Regions from separate parts of the Homo sapiens genome. Here region 2 is linked to region 1. The links are contacts of gene promoters, found by promoter capture Hi-C in human tissues and cell types (Jung and others, 2019). All regions are on one chromosome and are shown on one strand. Each heading gives the region's core, a stretch centred on a gene start or on the middle of the fragment in contact. The rest is flanking DNA. Distances are from core to core; before and after follow the strand shown.

Region 1 (4,344 bases), core at 501-3,000:
AATATTAAGCGCTGTCTCTCTTGCAAGTTGTTAACTATTTTGGAAACCATATTTGTTGCAGGCTAAATTTTGTCCCATCCAAATTCAAGAGTAAAGATCAAATTCTTCTTAGTACTCAGTGTTGCTTGAAAGATGAGTTAGGACCTAATTCTCTGTCCTCTGACTAAACCTTGGGCCCTGTTAGGTGTGTCATTTTACCTTATTTAGTCATGTTACGTGGCCTTAGGTAAGCCATATCATTTCAGTTCCTCAGCAGGGGTAGTCAAGCATGCAAACTGAGATCACCGTTTCTGGCCTCAGACCAGTGATTTTGTAACTACTATCTATGTGACCTTACAAAATATATTACTTCAAGTTCATTTCCTCATCTGTAATACCCACTGTACAAGGCTGTAGCAGGAATTAGTAAGATAAAAATATATGAAGGGTTTGACATATAGTAGATGCTTGAAAGTACTTTTCTCCCAATTATTATAATACATAAAATTTAAGTTTTTTTCTCAAAATAGACCTTACCCATCATTAGATTTACAGAAAGACTCAGGTGAAGTAGTTTTCCAGACTTCTCATTTTAACTATTACTAGGGGAGCTCCTATTCACAAAGTATCTTAAGACAATTACATTTAAGATAGGGCAATGAGTGTTGTGCATCTATCTGCATTAAGAACTAGAAAGTGGTAAATAAGTGAGGGACAGCTAAAATATCATGAAAACTCACGGGAGAAAGAAATTGACTTCACCTTTTAGAGTTGAGGCACACAGAGAAAGGACGTAGGAGGTAAACCTAGAATGCTGCTAATGAGTAGTTTTTCTCTGCGTAGCCCATAGATTGAATACTTTCTCTTCTGCTTCACCATTTTGCACCACTTTTATTATTAAATTTATAAATTAGATTGTAATTCCTGTTTCTGGTCTACTAGTTATTATTATCCGCTTTTGCAGGACATGCTCATTTTACCACCACTGAATTCTTCAGCACCTGATTAAAGTAACAGCTGTAATAAGAAATAACAGAAAGGATATTTGGACTTTGAGCTTAGTCCAACATTAATAGCATGGCTCTTGAGTCTGATTGATTTTGTTTAACTTCAGACTGGGCCTCTTACTTAGGTCAGTGATTTTTAGCGTTGCCAGATAAAATACAGGACACCAGTTAAATTTGAATTTCAGATGGACAAATAATTTTCAGTATAAATATATCCCATACAATATTTAGGGGATACTTACAACAAAATATTATTGTTTATCTGAAATTTCACATTTAACTGGACGCTTGGTATTTTCATTTGCTAAATCTGACAACCTTAGTGACTTCTCTAATCATGTTTGCTTTCTGCAAATAGGGCTGAAAATAGTACCTTCTCCCTAGGATGATCTATATACAGAACGTTGCTCATGGCAAAACCTTAATTTACCTTGCAAATCAGGATACTTTAGTAGAGACTTCTGTTAAAACTCTGGGACAATGACCATGCCCAGGCACCCAAAAAGATGGTTACCTTTATTCGACGGTTTTCTAAAGAGCACAGAGAAAGTTCAATAGAACCCTAAACAAAGGTACAAACTGCGTTGAAAGATACGTAAATGTGCCTTTAATAGCACAAGGGTATCTTAGCCACATCACTGCAAACTGCAGTCTCCCTGGTTACGGGGAAAGCGGTAGTTCGGTCTCTGCGCAAGCGCACAGGGACTTCTTGGGTCCACGCCCCTCCCCGCCGGCGAGAGTCACGTGGGCGAGTCGTAGCTTTAGACAAGCGGCCAGCCTTGACACGTGACCCAAGCCCCAGCTTCGCGCAGGGATGGAGCCGGAAGAGGGGACGCCCTTGTGGCGGCTGCAGAAGCTGCCGGCCGAGCTGGGCCCGCAGGTGAGGGCGGGTACCGGGGGAAGCGGCGCGGGGCCTGGGATTCGCGACAGCCCGGCGTGCGGATCAGGCCGGGTGCGACCCGGACGCCTTCGCAAGCTCCCTAGGGAAGGGAGGAGGAAGGGGCGTGATTTCGGGTGGTTGGTCCCCGCCTTCCCTGGGGAGCCTAGGAGGACAGCTTGGGGCGCCACCCCCAGCCTAGAGGTGCAGCTCCAGGGGCTTTGCGCGCAGAAGCGCCCACACCAGACTGGGCTTTGAAAGCTTAAGTCGGTGTTTGCTGCCTCTTAGTATACGTTTTCTTAATTCATTCAACACATAACCTCCCAAAGGCTCCCTACCTACCGGACAGCAGGTACAGAGCTAGGTGCTGGAATACAATGTGACAAAGACCGAAGCGGACCCTGCCTCCCCCCTTGAGGGTGGTTGGTAGGAAGAGAAATAACTGGGCGAGTTACTTTAGTTAGGATCGTCCCAAGAGGTGATGTACCCATTGACTTCCAGTCTGTAAAAGAACCTGGCTTGTAAGAATCTGGAAAAAGCAACCACATTCATTTGTTCAGCCAGTTTTTCATTGAAGTCTACCATAGATTGAGCGCCCCGATGGGATGAGGTAAATGGTGAGTGAGACACAGCCTGTGCCCTGGTGGAGCATCTTTTTTATAAGTCTCAATTTTGGCTTCCTGTTTCCTCTATTCCATTTATACTGGAGAAAGTGTGGAGGAGACAGAAAGGAATGAACTTACCTCCTGCCAGGGTCAAGAAAAAAAAACACCTAATTCTTTTCTTTGTTTTTGCAAGTGAGGAACCTGAAATGTCAGCAGAAATTTTGGCTAACTTGCCCAGGATTGCCCATCCAGTTAGTGGCAGAGCTGGAACTTATGCTCAGATCTGTTGATTCTGAGTGTTTTATTGGCTTTTGGCTCTCCTTGTCTTCACTCTACCCATTTAGATAAGGCCCATAACCTTTATTACCATATATGTCGATGACTTCTAAATCTTTAGGTCCAGCCAAAAATTTCTTCCTCTATGGTTCAAGAATGCCAGGTAAAAAACAAAACAAAACCCCAAAAACCCCAAACCAAAATCTCTTCCCTGAGTGTCAGGCTTCTGCCACAGGTACCTCAAATTCAGTATGCCCTTGCCTCAGCTCTTCTTTCCCCCTGGACCTACTCCTCCCGTAGCCTCATTTTCGGTTTGTGGCACCACCACTTTCACCCAGCCCCTCTCAACCTGACGTTCTAGGTTTCATCCATGGCCCCCCCTTTTCACATCTCTTCTACCTCTTTACTGCCTCCATTTTGAGTGTCCTCAACAATTTAAGCCCCTTAATCTTTAACTCCTTAACTGAAAATTGAGGCATCTGGGCTCACCCTCTCTCTTACATCTTCCAACCTGTTAGCAAATATATGGAAAAATAATGCAAATGTGTGAATAGGTTGCTTCCCGGTTGAGCACAGATTGAAGTCTAGGCTCTTTTACTTTGTACACAAGGCCCTTTTTGATTTGGCTCCACCCACCTCTCCAGCCTTGTCTCCTGTCACCCCCTAGGCACCCCCCAAAATAACTTGCTTGTGTCTAGAAATGCACTTCTTCTCTCCTGTTTTGCTTGGCCAACTACTCATCCTTTTAAGATGGACTTTTCCTTGCTTCCTCTCTGTGCTCCTTCGTACCTTGTATATATTTTTATTATGGCCCCATCATTCTAAATTACATGTATTTGTATGTTTGCCTTTTTCGAATGGACTAAAGCTCTGTTATGGTAGGGCCTTATTTATTCTCAGTTTCCTCATTTGTAAAATAGAAATAATAACAATGGTTACTTCAGAGTTGTAGTGAGGATCAGTCCAGAGTGTGGTACCTAGTTAGGGATCCATAACGGTAGCTATTATAGTTTCTTTGCCATTAAATAAAGTCATTTCCATGACCTTTGTCATTAAATAAGGTCATTTCCATGACTTTATTTAATAACTGGGATGAAGTGTTCATTACATATTTGTGAATGAATAACAAACATATTCCAAAAAAGATAATGCTTTTATTTTTCAGTTTGAGTTCTGGGTTTTTTTTTTAGCATGGGGACAGTATAGGATAAGGTGTAGAGAATTTTGAATGGATTCAAAATTGAGTATGTTGATTTATGGTAAATAAAAATTCAGTTTGTATAGTATATTAGCCACCATTTGGAAGCAGTTGCTTGTGTTCTGGCATGTGTGGTGTTAGAGGGAAGGAGTTATTAGTTAAAATGGGGTGGAATATGATTATTTCCAAGTTATTTGGTTCAAATACTCCTCTTGTAAGATACAAATAACTTCAAGAAAGATAACCTTATTAAATGTTAAGTGCTTAGAATAGTACTGGCATTGTGTTATCTCAGTTAATAGATGCTGAAGGCATGAATTGGAGGAGGAGGACTAGTGATAATAATTAGAATGGTAACGAGGGCTAGCAATGTCTACATGTCTTTGTACATGCCAGGAAGAT
Region 2 (4,344 bases), core at 993-3,492, 330 kb after region 1:
GAGCACATCATCAGTAATGGGACATCTGACATCATGTACCTTCAAATGGGATGCAGTGAGAACACAGCATTATTTCTGTGATAGTCCTGCTAAAAACACGTAACCTGAATCTAATCATGAGGAAATGTCAAACTAACTCAGATGGGAAGATGGTCTATAAAATAGCTTGCCTGTCTCTTAAAAATGTTAAGGTCATGAAAGACAAAGAAAGACTGATGAACTGCTCTATGTTAAAGAGACAAGATCACTGCTGCCATGTGTCCTCCTGGATTAGATACTGAATTAAATAATAAATAAGCTGACTGGAACTTTGCACACATAGGGGAATTAATGAGAATGAAGCCACTATATTGAAGAAACTTCACATGCCCAAGGCATCAATATCTACATTCATTGCTACAGTTTGCTTTGACCCTTTATTAATTATTTAGAGTGCTCTGTTTCCCCACACTGACAAATTGGGAGTGAATATCTGACTAGATATTTTAAATATTGTAATAGGGAATTATGCAGATGCAGTGAAGGTCACATACAGAAGTTTCTATCACATTTCAATCATCCATTCACTGAGTCAATCTACAAATTTATGTAGTTTGAATGTTCCAGGCTGTGCTCAAGGTGCTAGAGAATATACATTTTAACAAAACAGATACATTTAATGCTTTTGTAAAGGTTACTTTCTTTTGCAAGAGATATTGAACAAATTAAAACATAAAAACATAATATGCTGTATATCCTGAAGAAAATTAAGACATAGTAGAATAGATACAGAGTGATGGGTTTCAAAAAAAGAAAAGAGACAGTTTTGTTTAGCTAAAGTGTTTCAGGGATACCTCTTTGGTAGAGTAGCATTTGAGCAGGGATTTAAACAAAATGAGGAAAGACATGAAGATATTAAAGGGAAGTATGCTGTAAGCAGAGGAAGCAGAAATGCAAGGCAAGATGGGATGTGTTCTGAAGGATTTCTAGATATGTCTCATGATTGCACTGGAGACTCTCTGGGTCTGGCAGGCACACTGTTTTACTATTTAGCAGTAGGGCTCTCTGAACACGTTCTAGATTGTGGCTATTCACTTCCAGCTTCATCAAATACCCATCTATTTTCCTTCGTTCAAGAAATTCGTTGAGCGTTTCCAGTATTTGTTGAGTATTTCCAGTTGAGTATTCCACACTTGGTCCTTTTTTTCATTGCAATACAATTGTACCTTATAAAAAGTTCATTTTAACTGACTGTTCAGGAGTAGAGAACATAAATGAGTGGACTCAGGTGCCATCTTGAACTAAAAACAAAAGGAAAAACAAATCCTATCCTCTAAAAATATCTCTTAAAGCTTTTTTAAAGTGATGCAATCCAAACCAAACCAAACCAAACCAAACCAAACCAAACCAAACCAAACCAAACCAAAACAAACCAAAACAAACAAACGAAAAAACGTCTTCACAGAGATGGTAAACAAGCCCAAGGGCATTGGAGAGTTTTAACAGTAATTCTAAGATGAGAATATTTGTTATTATGGTATCTCTCACATCAATAGAAAAATAATAAGAAAGTTAGCATACAACATAAACAGTGATTGATATTTTCAACAAGAAAATGAAAACAAAACTGTAAAAAAAGAGAGAGAAATTCAATCTGAATGACGCTTTCTAGTGAAATGAGCCCAATGCAGTGTGTTAGGAATAGATTTTTATTCTTCTTCAATACCCCTGCATTTAAATATCCAATAAATAAATGATTTCATAAATCACAGCAAATAAAACTGTTTAAAAAAACATGAAAATTCATTAAACTACCTTTCTTTCTGAGGCAGTAGTCAACAGATTGTCAAATTAAATTTCAAATTGAAATTATAAAGGAAAAAATACATTAATATCAAATTCTGATTCTAGGAGCTATGAAAAAAAAATTATATTGCTCTACTGGATAAATTAGTAATGGTTCTCAGATATTTTACTTGTCAATTAGAAAGAAACAAAGTTCTTAAATCATTTCTGATCATCATCCTAATCTAAATGTTCAGTAATTTGCACAAATTCATGCAGAATTGGTAGCAGAATAGAAATATAAACTGGGCCCTAATACCCCAGGTATTGGTTCTTTTACCATATCGTAACATTGCATCATTCAATTTGAAATCATTGAATATTTTCTGCATTCAAAGTCTGGCCAATATGCCCACTGCCTCCCTAGCATTGCAGAAAGAGACAATGATATTAAGTAGGTGCAAAAAAAAATTGCAGTTTTGGCCATTATTTTAAACAGCAAAAACAACAATTACTTTTGCACCAACCTAATACAATCTACAGCAATGGCTACATTGCACTCAGAAAAACAAGACTCGGCCTGGTGCGGTGGCTCACACCGGTAATCCCAGCACTTTGGGAGGCCGAGGCGGGCAGATCATCTGAGGTCAGGAGTTCGAGACCAGCCTGCCAACATGGCGAAACCCCATCTCCACTAAAAATACAAAAATTAGCCAGGTATGGTGGCACGTGCCTGTAATCCCAGATACTCGAGAGGCTGAAGCAGGAGAATCGCTTGAATTTGGAGGCAGAGGTTGCAGTGAACCGAGATTGCGCCACTGCACTCCAGCCTGGACTACAGAGCAAGCTTCTGTTAAAAAAAAAAAAAATTCTCCAGAAGAAGAAAGTTTGGACTTAAGCATTCATAGAATGGCCTCTTCAGTTTTCTTCCAGGGCTGGGTAGGAACAATATAATCTTTTTGTGAATGTAAGCACACAGAGGCTTTAAATCAAGGCAGTGTGTTATATTTAGAGATGGTTTTGCAAACCCATAAACAAAACTTCAGCTTTAGTTTTATGCCACTTGTCAGTTTGATGACTGGTTGAACTTCAGTAGACTTGTGCTTTTTAAGCTCACCTAATGGACATTAATAACTTTCTTTGTAACCAGCTTTCTTGATATAGCACTTAATCCCTTGAAGGACAAATGTTTATTGAGCTATTACTATATGTGAAGCACTGTACTGAGAGCTGGAAATATAATAATAAATAAAACATCATACAGTCCCTATCCTTTTGGTGCTTGGAGGTTATGAGATCCCTGCTCTCATGATCCCTGCGACCTACTGCAGGAACAGACATGACTAATCTAATAATTACACAATTAAATATAAAATTACAAATGTAATAAGGGTCATGAAAGAGAGGTACTATTCCTCTGTAAAAGTGTATAAGAAGAGCATTTGACCATTCCTAATCTGGGGGGAGGCAAATGGTCAGGAGGTTCTCAAAAATAAGGGATATTTGAGAAGAGCCAGAATAAATACAGCAAAAGAGGGAAGTGGGCTCCAGACTGAAAGGACAACTTGTGCAAAGGCTGGGTTGGAGAAGGAACTGTATTTTCCAGGAGCTGAATTTTCCAGGAACATTGTATTTTCTTAAACTGGAAAAGAAAGCACACACACACACACACACACACACACACACACACACACACACACACACACACAGTATCTGGAGCCCAGACATTATGGGGGAATGTGCAGTGGTATGGGGCTGTGGAGGTGGGCAGGGGCCAGCCCAATCAAGACTGCTTAAATCTTGTGGTCTTTATCCTGAAGGAAGTGGGAAGACAGTGAAAGATTTAAGCAGGAGAGTGACATGATCAAGCTTACATTTTGGAAATAAAACACTTGGTATCAGAGAGAAAATGTGGGGGAGCAAATGCTATGGAGACAGTTAGTACATTATTGCCAGAAATAATCATCCACGCAATGGAGGAGAGGGCATGTGATTCCCTGGGAAATTTGTTAGCAGACTTTTCAACATATACTTTGCGAAAATTGAATGTTTTAAAAATAAAACACAATGTTTTACACTTGAAAAGTAAAGGCAGATTATATCTATTTATTCATCTACATAGTCACACATGTGCTTATCCACCTTTTTGTTCTGTTTTGCTTTTCTTCTCTACTGACATACTTTCCATTCCTGAAAGGGTGATTCTCTCTTTTTTCTTCCCTGGGTTCTTTGAACACTTGATGCATCCTCTCATGAGAAACGCTCTTCCTAGTCTTCTTTCCACTCGGCCCAACCAATGTCTAATCTACTTTGTTCTTGGTTTAAGTATTTCTTTTTCCAGGAAGCCTTCACTGATTTCTAAAATCCATGATAGCTATCATGATGGTGACTCCCATTGCAACACATAGTTTATGGCCATTAATTAACTATTTACAATTGCTCATATAATTATTTGTTTATGTTAGTCAACTGTAAGTGCTTTGAAGGCAGGAACTGTGTCTATCACATCACCATTTCTTATTAGGTAACTACAGTGCCTGGCACATCATAGGAACTGAAAATATATTTGCCAATGATGAA

What was found. Contacts are between HindIII fragments. The study calls those that stand out against the background at their distance.
Region 2: a fragment that was not itself captured here is called in contact with the fragment with the promoter of COMMD8 in region 1 in 1 of the 25 tissues and cell types used here (thymus).

What each region holds. Positions count from the first base shown.
Region 1 is chr4:47,461,108-47,465,451 of GRCh38, reverse strand. It overlaps COMMD8 (COMM domain containing 8), which reads left to right and starts at 1,750. Exons shown (of 5, transcript NM_017845.5): 1 at 1,750-1,866. The coding sequence starts at 1,801. LOC107986277 (a long non-coding RNA gene) reads right to left here and starts at 1,569. Exons shown (of 3, transcript XR_001741683.3): 1 at 1,501-1,569. RefSeq lists an enhancer at 62-111 and a silencer at 1,760-2,019. The HindIII fragment of the contact is 7,884 bases long and covers 1-3,465 here.
Region 2 is chr4:47,129,455-47,133,798 of GRCh38, reverse strand. The region is part of intron 3 of GABRB1 (gamma-aminobutyric acid type A receptor subunit beta1); the gene reads right to left. Among named protein-coding and RNA genes, the nearest start is that of GABRB1, 100 kb to the right of the region's middle. The HindIII fragment of the contact is 4,621 bases long and covers 1-4,344 here.